Regions from separate parts of the Homo sapiens genome. Here regions 2 and 3 are each linked to region 1. Evidence: promoter capture Hi-C in 16 types of primary human blood cells and fetal thymus (Javierre and others, 2016). All regions are on one chromosome and are shown on one strand. Each heading gives the region's core, a stretch centred on a gene start or on the middle of the fragment in contact. The rest is flanking DNA. Distances are from core to core; before and after follow the strand shown.

What was found. Contacts are between HindIII fragments. The CHiCAGO score rates a contact against its expected background, and 5 or more counts as called.
Region 2: a fragment that was not itself captured here is called in contact with the fragment with the promoter of ZNF607 in region 1 in 13 of 17 cell types (total CD4 T cells, naive B cells, non-activated CD4 T cells and 10 more); the score reaches 10.3 in total CD4 T cells.
Region 3: a fragment that was not itself captured here is called in contact with the fragment with the promoter of ZNF607 in region 1 in 1 of 17 cell types (fetal thymus); the score reaches 5.0 in fetal thymus.

Annotation. Positions count from the first base shown.
Region 1 is chr19:37,717,043-37,721,201 of GRCh38, forward strand. ZNF607 (zinc finger protein 607) reads right to left here and starts at 2,719. Exons shown (of 5, transcript NM_032689.5): 1 at 2,227-2,719. RefSeq lists silencers at 2,221-2,310, 2,371-2,480. The HindIII fragment of the contact is 3,190 bases long and covers 1,999-4,159 here.
Region 2 is chr19:37,235,861-37,239,968 of GRCh38, forward strand. It overlaps ZNF383 (zinc finger protein 383), which reads left to right. Exons shown (of 6, transcript NM_001387601.1): 5 at 119-214. Among named protein-coding and RNA genes, the nearest start is that of LINC01535, 14 kb to the right of the region's middle. The HindIII fragment of the contact is 3,665 bases long and covers 1-3,663 here.
Region 3 is chr19:37,214,843-37,219,007 of GRCh38, forward strand. It overlaps ZNF383 (zinc finger protein 383), which reads left to right and starts at 3,372. Exons shown (of 6, transcript NM_001387601.1): 1 at 3,372-3,432. RefSeq lists an enhancer at 2,998-3,487. The HindIII fragment of the contact is 190 bases long and covers 2,493-2,682 here.

The DNA of each region.
Region 1 (4,159 bases), core at 1,469-3,968:
GTCCAATAATTTGGGGCACACATTATATGCTCAGTAAATGTAGCCACAACCCTTTCATTCCTCTCTGAAAAACCAATTAAATAATCATTTTGGATACAATCCTTGCAAAAGTTTTTGCAAAATTCCCTTTGTTTAATTTTAATTTTAAATTTTATTTTTTTGAGACGGAGTCTCGCGCTGTCGCCCAGGCTGGCGTGCAGTGGCTCGATCTCGGCTCACTGCAAGGTCCGCCTCCCAGGTTCACACCATTCTCCTGCCTCAGTCTCCCGACTAGCTGGGACTACAGGCGCCCACCACCACGCCCGGCTAATTTTTTGTATTTTTAGTAGAGACGGGGTTTCACCATGTTAGCCAGGATGGTCTCAATCTCCTGACCTCATGATCTGCCCGCCTCGGCCTCCCAAAGTGCTGGGATTACAGGCGGAAGCCACTGTGCCAGGCCCAAAATTCCATTTTTAAAAAATGAGCTGCGGCTGGGCGTGGTGGCTCACGCCTGTAATCCCAACACTTTGGGAGGCCAAGGTGGGTGGATCACCTGAGGTTGGGAGTTCAAGACCAGCCTGACCCACATGGAGAAACCCCGTCTCTACTAAAAATACAAAAAAAAAAAAAAAATAGCCAGGCATGGTGGCCCATGCTTGTAATCTCAGCTACTCAGGTGGCTGAGGCAGGAGAATCGCTTGAACCCGGGAGGCGGAGGTTGCAGTGAGCAGAGATCGCACCATTGCACTCCAGCCTGGGCAACAAGAGCGGAACTCAGTCTCAAAAAAAAAAAAAAAAAAAAAAAAGAAAGAAAAAGAGTTGCATATATAGTTTGAGAACTGTGATCCACCACTGTAACTCTAAATAGTGTTAAACATTAGATCACAGCTATTTATCCTGTGACAGATTCTTTACAAACATAAATCTTATTATTTGTATAATATCCAATCCCTTGGACGCTGTATAATTTTCTTAACCATTCCCATAATCTCGTTCATTAGTTTTCTGCAAAACCATTCAAAGGTATAAAACTCTTTGATTCCAGATCTAAAACCTGAGTCTAAATAATTTGGATTATGGACATCCTAGAAAAATGCAAATTAACAAACATGTACAGGAATTCTTTATAGAATTTCAGGGGGTTTGTGATGTCCCTTATGCCCATAAGGGCATTGGTCTACAGACAGTACACCAATGACCGAGAATTCCTATTTTGGAAAACTTAAATTCTGGCTCACTTCCTTCACATCACGGCTAAGTTCATATTCTTGTTGCTTTTGATCTACAGAAATCCAAAACGGAATATCCAAAATTGCCTCATAATACTTAGCGCTTATGTTTCCCCCCTCCAAGGCTGCAGGCGCGTAATTTCATACACACGACCAGAAGGAAGTATGTTGGATGGAACCTGCAATCATCCTTCACTGCAGGTTCTTGGGGTCAGAATTCAAGGCCGTGTTTGTTAAACATGTAAATGAAACTCCAAGAACCGGGAGGTGGGGGCGGAGTAACAACCCTTTTCAGGAGGGAATCCTACACTCGAAACTGACAAACCCTGCCAGACCAAATTTTAGTCAGGCTACTACACCTTCAGCTAGGCCCATCTGTACACTTCACTGTAAAATCTGGCTATAGCAAAGAACTATTCTAAGTCAGTTTAGCAAGACCCTTTCGCCTCCGTATCTTCATCCTCCACCGTCCCCCAGGTCTCTCTCTCCAGAAATAATCCTGTTAGGTGCGTTTAGTCAGAATCTTCCTTAACCCAGACATTTCCTCTTAGTAATTTCTCATCCAGTGATCCCTAACCTTCTTGGCTATAAATTCCCACTTGTTCATGCTGAATTCGGAGTTGAGCCCAATGTCTGTTACCCACTGCAAAATCTCACAGCCGGGATCCCAATACCTACCACCATGGTCCTGAATAAAGGGTTCTTTGCATGCTTTAACAAGTGTCACTGAATACTTTTTTATTTAACAGAATCTATCATACCTTTCTTAAGGGCAATTACTCTTCTAAGCTTCTCATCCTATCTGTTTCTTCTCACTGGAAATCTTCATCTAAGACTCAGTATCTGATTTCCCATTGGGACCATTTCTCTGTTGTAGTCGTACTAGGCTGAGGAAGGCACAGGAAGCAGCAGGGAACCTGGAGCCAAGGGTCAATAGACCCCACAGAGCCCAGCGAAGCACGCTTTACAAAGGACACACACGGCATGTACAGGTCACACAAGGTCGACTACGCACCCCTCACAGTCCCGCAACTGCACCCACGTCACACAGGCAAGCCGGTCCTGTCGCCGCTGCGCGGTCTCTCACGCTCCCCGCCTGTCTCCTAGAGACGGGCCCCTCCTCCGCAGCTCCAGCACCCTAGGGCCTGAGGAGGCGGGAGACTCGCCCGGCCCGCCTGGGGGCCTCCGCGCTCTGAGCGCCTCCTGCAGCCCCACTCTCACCGCCACGCAGGGTACCACGCGGGCGGCGGGCTGGGGCTGCAGAGGCTCCCGCAGTGACCTGCGCCGCCTTCTTCAGGTGGAACCAAAAGGTCCCGGAACCGGAGCCAGGGGTCCAAGTTTTCTCCGTTGCCTTTGTAATATGTAGTCCAAGCCAGAACAGTCAGGACCGCAGGTACCGGTGAGAAATGGAGTCCAGAATCCTAAAAACCTACGAGAAATACGGCAGCGACCACTTGGACCGCGCCTCCCACCCACCGCTCGAGCCCCGGAGACTTCTGGGAGTGGCCGCCTTGCCTCGAGTGCGCATGCGCAGATCGGCCACTACTGGGCCCCTGGCCTGAGGCTTAGGGTGGAGTTAGTGCGTTCTTAGGGCCAGTAGGAGGCGAGTCTGAGTAGAAACTGATCCAGGTAGCCTCGGAAGGGATCACCTGCTGGATGGGTGTGAGCTCCTCAGGGTGGGGCGCCGAAACCCTCATGGCTCCTGAGGTAGAGCCGGCCTCCTTGGTAACACATGGGACTGGGACTTTTAATACCACCCGACAGGCCCAGCTTGTCTCGTCAAGCGCTAAGTAAATGGACTCACGTCCTATATGAGGGTTTGAAGTTCCATCACATTCTTCAATACATGACATTATGTTCTTCATCTTTGGACACGAATATATTTGACTAAAAATTTGACTAAAAAATCATCTGAAGAAATAACTGCTAAATAGTTTTATTATTTTTGTTCTGGAATAGGCTTCTTGAAGATAAAATAAGAAATTTAAAAAATTTTTTTGATCCTTCATGTAATACTTTGTAAATCTTCATAGTTATTTAGAAGCATCCAAAATTTCCAAATGGTAAAAAACGAATAAGAAAAATTTTTAGGTAAGTAAATTTGGGGGAAATATTTACAACAGCTAAAACGGACAAATATTTAATAGTCCGAATTTCCTGTTTCTTTGGCTTAATAAAATATTGATGAATACAGGCTGGGCACGGTGGCTCACGCCTTTAATCCCAGCATTTTCGGAGGCCAAGGCAGGAGGATCAGTTGAGGCCAGAAGTTCAAAACCAGCCTAAGAAACATAGTGAGACACCCCTCTCCTCCTCCCAAACTCTACCAAAAATGAAAGTTAGCCTGGTGTGGTGGCACACGCCTGTGGGCCCAGCTATTCCAAAGACAAAGGTAGGAGGATCAGTTGAGCCCGGAAGTTCAGGCTTCAGTGAGGTATGATGGTGTCACCGCACTCTGGCCTGAGCAACAGAGCAAGACCTTGTCTCAAAAAATAAATAAGTAAAATTAATTTAAAAATAAAAAATATTTGTCTATACCCTAAGAGGAAAAGGAACAAAACTAAAAAATCACCATTCAAAAATACAAATAGTCAAGGAAAAAAAACTATTAAAGTTACAATTTAAGAACTTATTGATCACTTTTTCTTCTCTTAATTAGTTCTTGGATTTGTTGCTCCTGAATCTCCTGAATAATCTCTCAGAAATACCACACATAGATCAATGGATTAAATTGACTCCACATATTATTTTCTTTTTCTTTTTTCTCTTTTTGAGACGGAGTTTTGCTCTAGTTGCCCAGGCTGGAGTGCAATGGCACGATCTTGGCTCACTGCAACCTCCACCTCCCAGGTTCAAGCGATTTTCCTGCCTCAGCCTCCTGAGTAGCTGGAATTACAGGCATGCATCACCATGCCCAGCTAATTTTGTATTTTTAGTAGAGACAGGGT
Region 2 (4,108 bases), core at 581-3,080, 480 kb before region 1:
CTTCATCTTCATCTTTCTTTGGCTGTTCCTGTAGTGGCATCTCTTCCTGTGATCATCAAGGGACTGGATCTCCTTTACCCCCAGCATAACCATGTTCCATATCTTTTCTCGTGAGCAGGACTTTACACTCCTAAGCCTCAAGTGATCTCCTTATTGGAACAAGGGAAAGAGCCCTGGATGGTTGGCAGAGAGCTTACAAGAGGCCTGTGTTCAGGTAAGTGAGAAATGACCGGACAGGAGAAAGTCACGATAGGTCAGAACTCAGCTGGTCAGGGAGGAAACAGCACCTTTGAGATGTTATCCCTGAAGCTCCCATCAAGAAACTAGGCCAGTGGAGAAAATGAAGTCCTTTTAGCATAGTTGTTAAATAACCTGTTTCGCCCTTTTCCTCACTTACCACTATTTCTACTACTCCTCTCCAATCCTCCTCTTAATTTCAAGCAGAAGGTACCTTTTACTTCTCTAAAAAAAACCCTATTTTACCCGTATTTTAGATTCAGCTGCTTGCTAGCTTTTTTTACTCTCTCTCTTTTTTTTTCTTTTTTTTTAAAGGGTCTGGCTCTGTCACCCAGGCTAGAGTGCAGTGACATGATCATAACTTATTGTAGGCTCAAACTTCTGGGCTTAGGCAGTCTCCCTGCCTCAGCCTTCCAAGTGGCTGGGACCGTAGGCCTGTGCCACCATGCCTGGCTAATTCTTTTTCTTCTTCTGCATTTTTTTTTTTTTTTGAGACGGAGTCTCGCTCCGTCGCTCAGGCTGGAGTGCAGGGTGCGATCTTGGTTCACTGCAACCTCTGCCTCCCGGGTTCAGGCGATTCTTCTGCCTCAGCCTCCTGAGTAGCTGGGACTACAGGCGCATGCCACCATGCCCAGCTAATTTTTGTATTTTTAGTAGAGGTGGGGTTTCACCATATTGGCCAGGCTGTTCTTGAACTCCTGACCTCATGATCTACCCGCCTCAGCCTCCCAAAGTGCTGGGATTACAGGCATGAGCCACCGCGTCCGGCCCCTCTTCTGCATTTTTTAGACTTGTACAGGTGTTTTCTACTACCACTCCCCAAAATAATATAATTGCGTCTGTATACACACATGTGAACACACACACACACACACACACACACACACACACACACACAGAGACACACACACACACACCCCTTGCCCAAGTACTGGTCTTCATTATAGCTGCCTGTCAGTGACCTGTTTTATCAGACTGTCTTCAATGTTTCCTTTATGGAACGTTTTTTAATTTCCTGGTTTGTGTAAGGGAATCTTCCAGGTGCTACAGTTTACTAATTGTGTTACCTTTACAAATTCAAGGTCCAAAAGTGGTGCTAAAATATATACATATATGACTTCCACAAAGTAGAGTAGTATAAAAGAGAAATGAGATAAGGAGTTTAGCAGAAAGTCAAAGGCTAACTATGTAGAAGTGGAATTAATCCCTATTGAAGTAGTAGGTGGAGCCTTGGAAGTGACTGCAATCACTATGTATAGAGATATTGTTGGGGCCAAGAAAAAAAAAGGATCTGTGCCTATATTAAAAAGGAAGAGGTGGCAGAGCAGGAGAGATTTGGGATGAAGTAGGAGAACCAGAAGAGTACTTATTGAGCACTACTATGTACCAAGCATTGGTCCAAGGGCTGGGACTGTAGTATTCATGAAGGCATTCTAAAGTTCTGCACTTCTGAAGCCTACATTCTAGAGGGTAAGAGAGAAAATGTCTTAGTCCATTTTGTGCTGTTACAGCAGAATACCTCACATCGAGTAATTTATAAAGAACAGACATTTATTTTCTCATAGATCTGGAGGCTAAGAATTCTAAGATCAAGGCACTGTCATCTGATGAGGGCCTTCTTGCATCTTCGTGTGGCAGAAGGCAGTAGGGCAAGAGAGCCAACTCCTTCCATCAAGCCCCTTCGTAAGAGCACCGAAACCCATCCTTGAGGGATGGGTCCTTGAAGCCCGATCATCTCTTAAAGGCCTCACCTCTTCGTTTTTGGAATTTTTTTTTTTTTTTTGAGACAGGGTCTCACTCTGTCACCCAGGCTGGAGTGCAGCGGCACAATCATGGCTCACCACAGCCTCAACCTCCCGGGCTCAGGTGATCCTCCCACCTCAGCCTCCCGAGTAGCTCGGCCCACAGGCACACGTCACCACGCCCAGCTAATTTTTCTATTTTTTGTAGAGACAGGGTTTCGCCATGTTGCCCAGGCTGGTCTCTAACTCCTGGGTTCAAGCGATCCACCCACCTTGGCCTCCCAAAGTGCTAGGATTAAAGGCTTGAGCCACTGTGTCTGGCCCCCACCTCTTAATACTATCACATTGGCAACAGCTGAATTTTGAAGGAGAGACATTCAAACCATAGCAGAAGATAAACATGAATGTCAAGTATATATGTATAAAACAATATTAGCATGACATTAATATTATATGATATATAAATATTTTTAGAATTATATATCACTTACATTTATCTACATGTAACTAATATATTGGTATAGTATAAATATATATCATATATTAATAATATTTCTATATTATTATATGTCCATGTGTATATGAAATGTCAGGTGGTGGGTGATAGATAAGTGCTGTGAAGAGAGGCTAGAGAGGGCCTCTCTGATGAGGTGTTCTTTTAGTGAAGACTTGAAGGAAGTGAGGGAACAGGTAATGTAAATATCTGCTAGGAGAGATTCAGGCAAAGGGAACAGGAAGAGCCAAGTACTCGAGTTCAGAGCTTTTTGGCAGCCACCATTATGGCTGAAATTGAATGAGCAAAGCGGGAATTGTAGAAGAGGAGATCAGGAAAGTAGCAGGCTTATGAGTGTTTGCATGCTGGGTGCAGGTCAGGATGGGAGTTGGATGTACCTGTAGATGATTTTGGGTCTTGTGGACCTTGAATTTTACTCCGAATGAGGTGTAAATCCATTGAATGATTTAGCAGAGTGATATTATCATGTTTGCAAAGGATCATTCTTGCTCTAGGGGTTCCTAACTTTGGATTCCTTTAGGTAGAATTCAGGGAGTCCATGAACTTGGATGAGAAGAAAAAAATACATCTTTTTGGTTTTTTTTGAGACGGAGTCTCACTCTGTCACCCAGGCTTGAGTGCAGTGGTGTGATCTCAGCTCACTGTAGCCTCCACCCCGCAGGTTCAAGCGATTCTACTGCCTCAGCCTTCTGAGTAGCTGGGATTATAGGCGCCTGCCACTGCGCCCGGCTCATTTTTGTATTTTTAGTAGAGATGGGGTTTCACCATCTTTGCCAGGCTGGTCTTGAACTTGTGACCTCATGATCCACCTGCCTTGGTCTCCCAAAGTGCTGGGATTACAGGCATGAACCACTGTGCCCAGACCAAAAATACATCTTTATATTTAATAACCTCTAATTGAGATATAACATTTCTTCCTATCGTGATGTATGGGACAAACCATAGTAGCAGTAGTAGTAGTAGTAGTTACTGTGACTTTGACATTAATGGAAATCACAGATACGTTCATATTATTTTACTGTTATTGTAGGCATATTGAAATATTTATGCTCATCACTACTTCAGAATTAATGTAGTACTAGGCTTGCCACTAGGTCTTGTTTAATGTTTTACTAGAGAAGAAAACTCCAGGCAGAGAGAAGAACCCCTGTGAAGGTTCTGATGGGGAAAAGCTTGGTGTGTTTGAAGGACTAAATGCCAGTGTTGGTGGGCCCCATGATCAAGTGGGAGTGGAGTGTGAGTCAGGGTTTGGATAGACAGGCAGGAGCCACAGCATTCAGCCTTTGCAGGAGATTGTAAGGAGTTCGGACTTTGAGCAGTGGAAACCTAAGCCAAATGATACTATTCCCTGAATAGATTAAAGGGTGAGAGAGCTTGGTGGGGAGACTGGTTGAGGAGGCTACTTCACTGGTCTGGGTAAGAGTTGATTCTGGTTTGGAAGATGACATTGGCAGTGGAAGACAGAAGAGGGCAGTTTCAAAACTTTACTTGGGAGCTTAACTAGATGAAAGTTACTGCAAGATCTGCCGGGCGCAGTGGCTCACGCCTGTAATCCCAGCACTTTGGGAGGCCGAGGCGGGAGGATCATGAGGTCAGGAGATTGAGACCATCCTGG
Region 3 (4,165 bases), core at 1,338-3,837, 500 kb before region 1:
GCTGGGTGCAGTGGCTCACACCTGTAATCCCAGTACTTCGGGAGGCCAAGGCAGGCAGATCACTTGAGGTCAGGAGTTCAAGACCAGCCTAGCCAACATGATGAAACCCTGTCTCTACTTAAAAAAAAAAAAAAAAAAAAAAAAAAAAAGGAAAGAAAAATTAGCCGGGCATGGTGGTGGGTGCCTGTAATCTCAGCTACTAGGGAGGCTGAGGCAGGAGAATCACTTGAACCCAGGAGGCAGACGTTGCAGTGAGCCGAGATCCCACCACTGCACTCCAGCTTGGGCAACAGAGGGAGACCCCATCTCAAAATAAATAAATAAAAATTAAAAAAATAAATTAAAAATTAAAAAAAAGAAATGAGTTTTTTCTGCTCTAAAATCAAAAGTTTGCAAGCTGCATTCCTTTCTGGAGGCTCTGGAGAATTTGTTTTTTTTCATTTTCCAAGTTGGAGAAGCTGCCTGCATTCCTCAGCTCATGGGCTCCTTTCATCTTTACACCCAATAATGGCTGGTCGTGTGTTTCTCACAGCACACAATTCCAACACTGACTTTATGCCTTCTTCCTCATTTCAGACCCCATGTGATTACATTGGGTCTAACTGGACAATCCAGTATAATTCCCCTATGTTAAGGTCAGCCGATTAGCAACTTTAATTCTACCTGTTAATTTAATTCCACTTGCCATGTAACATAGCATATTCACAAGTCCCAGGAACTAGCATGTGGGTATTTTGGGGGGAACATTATCCTGCCTACTTTAGATGTTGAGGTCATTCAAGAGGAAAATGATAGTTTTGTTAACATGTGATGTTAGAACAACTGAATTTCCATCTGGAAAATAATAACTTTGAACATTACCTCACATACACAAAAACTAACTTCAAGTGGATGATAGACCAAAAATAAAAACTAAAACTATACAACCTTTAGAATAAAACATAGGAGAAATTCTTCACAACACTAGAGGAGTCAAAGATTGTTAGAAAGACCAGAAAGCATGAAGCACATTTTAAAGATGAGAAATTGGATTTCATCAGAAGTAAAAACTGCTTTTTGAAAGACATCATGAAGAAACTGAGGGCTGGGCACAGTGACTCACACCTGTAATAACACAGTGAGACCCCATCTCCACAAAACACAAGAAAATTAGTTGGGGGTGGTGGTGCACACCTGCAGTCCCAGCTACTCAGGAGGATCGACTAAACCCAGGAGGTCAAGGCTGTGGTGAGCTATGTTAACACCACTGCACTCCAGACTAGGCAACAGAGCAAGACCCTGTCTCAAAAAAAAAAAAAAAAAAAAACTGAGAAGGTAAGCCCCAGGCAGGGAGAGAATATTTGCAATTTGCAATATGTATATTTGGCAAAGGACTTTTACCCAAACATATAAAGAATTGTTACAACTCAATAATAACCAATTTTAAAATAAGAAAATTTTATTTATTTATTTATTTATTATTATTTTTTGAGATGCAGTTTTGCTCTTGTTGCCCTAGCTGGAGTGCAACAGTGTGATCTCAGCTCACAGCAACCTCTGCCTCCCGGGTTCAAGTGATTCTCCTGCAGGGATTACAGGCATGCACCGCCACGCCTGGCCAATTTCGTATTTTTAGTAGAGACGGTGTTTCTCCACGTTGGTCAGGGTGGTCTCGAACTCCCAACCTCAGGTGATCTGCCCGCCTCAGCCTCCCAAAGTGCTAGGATTACAGGCGTGAGCCACTGCGCCCAGCCGAATATTTTCAATAGATGTCACAAAAGAAGATAAAAGAATGGCAAATAAGTATATGAAAGTATGCTAAGTTCATTGACATCAGGAAATGCAAATTAAAAACATAATTTGATACTACTGCTCATTCCTTAGAATAGTCAATAGATGCCTGATGTGGGGTTTGGGAGGTGGGGATTGACTTAACAATGTGGGGGGCAGAGGGCGGTGAATAAAAATATTCTATATCCGCCGGGCGCGGTGGCTCACGCTTGTAATCTCAGCACTTTGGGAGGCCGAGGCGAGCGGATCACGAAGTCAGAAGTTCGAGGTCGGGAGTTCGAGACCAGCCTGTGAGCTCGAACCCTGTCTCTACTAAAAATACAAAAATTAGCCAGGCATGGTGGCGGGCACCTGTAATACCAGCTACTCGGAAGGCTGAGGCAGGAGAATCGCTTGAACCCGGGAGGCGGAACTTGCAGTGAGCCGAGATCTCGCCACTGCAGTCCAGCCTGGGTGACAGCTAGACTCCAACTCAAAAAAAAAAAAAAAAAAATTCTATATCCAGTAACACTAAGGATAAATGCTTGAGGGGATAGACACCCTATTTTACATGATATGATTCTTACGCATTGCATGCCTGTATCAAAACATCTCATGTACCCCATATACAACTACTATGTACCCACAAAAATTTAACTAAAATGCTTAAAAATTTTTTAATTTTAAAAAATATTCTATATCCTGATTACGATGGTGGTGACAAGGGTTTAGACATGCGTTGAAGCTTACCGAACAGTTCACTTAAAATGAGTGCATTTTATTGTATCTAAATTATTCTTCAGTAAAGTTGATTTTTAAAAAACATGCACACAAATATAATTTACAAACTATAACATTAGCTCGTTTATGGTGTACCATTCAGTCACTTTTAGTGTATTCAGAGTTGTGCAAACATCATTATCTAATTCAAGAAGCTTTGCATTACCCCAAAAATGAACCCTTTAGCTATTACCAATCACTCACAGTTCCCCCTAATCCTGCTAGTCCTAAAAAACTCTAACTTACTCCTTTTCCGTAGATTTGACTATTTTAAATATTTCCTATAAATGCAGTCATACAGTATGTGGCTTATCCACGGATGAAGGCAAAAATGACGATTTAGTCAGTCTAGCATTCTCAGAGAGCGTTATAACGCCTAGTACAGTCCGGGGTCCTGGGTGCGTTCTGCACTGAGTCGGCTTGGGGCAGGAAGTCATTTAAGCGACCTCCTTCCACTTGCCCCAGCGCCTCACCCCTTCCTGCTCTAGACTACAGTTCCCAAAAATCCTTGCGGCTCTAGTCAACATCTGGCCCGAAGCTGGCGACCTTTTCCTGTTTCTCAGGGAACTCCCTGGGGTTGGCCGGTACCATGGAGGAAGATTGTCTTCAGCGTGCAGGGCCAGCGTCCTACGGCAGTTTCACTCTGAGCCTGTGTCTGGATCACGGAGACGCGGGGTAGCGGTTCGGAGTGCGGAGCAGGGATGTCCCCGAGCTGTGCAGCTGCAAGAACCCGAAAAAACAGGCGCCATCTTCTCGGCGCGGTCCTACTCCGGACTGTATTTCCCAGAGGCCCCCGCGAGTCCAGGGCAGCCCCTTCATTTGCCTGCTGGACCCTCCGCCTCAAGGGTAGGGGAAGTGCGCGGTGAGCGGCCTGGGTCTTGCAGGCTCGGCTGGGGCCCGCAGGTACGTGCATGGGAGTTTGAAGGGACTGACCAGGCTGGTCTGGAGTGTTGGGCATGTATGAGTGTGTCGGGCATGTATGAGTTGGTCGGGCTGATAGAGGGGGTGGTGGGGAGGCGGGCGCGAGGCGTGGGCTTCCGTGTGTGAGTGTGACCTTATGTGACTGTGCCTCTCTGTGTGCGCGGGTGTGATTGTATATCCTCGTTGTAGTTGTGTAATTGTAACAATGTAAGGCTGTATGTGTAGGTATGACTGTGTCCCGTGTTGGGACTGTGATTGTGTGTGGCTGTGTAACTTTGCGTGACATTTGTGGAGGGTGTTTGTGTGGAGAGAATCTGATGAGGCTGTGACTGTGTGTTAGTCTGAGGGGTGTGTGTAATTGTGTTTGTATGACTGTTAGCAGCACTTAAGTGTACTGGATGCCTTACTGAGTAAATCTACTACCCAGAAATAACCCAGTAACGTGAGAATGTGAGAGTGTGACCATGTAACTTTATGTAGCACTGTGTCTGCGGTTGGAAAGTGCGTGTAATCGTGCCGGGGTGATATGTGTGTCCTAGTGGTCATTGTGTTATTTTGAATGTGTGATTGTGTGTAGTGCTCAATAGGGGTCCTGGGGAGGGGGGAACTGTAACTTTGTGTGGCTCAGTAGTGCGTGTGGTATTGTGACTATCTGTAGCACTCTGGTTCTGAATGGTGCTATGTTTGAGGGGTCTGTAAATATGCTAGTGTAACT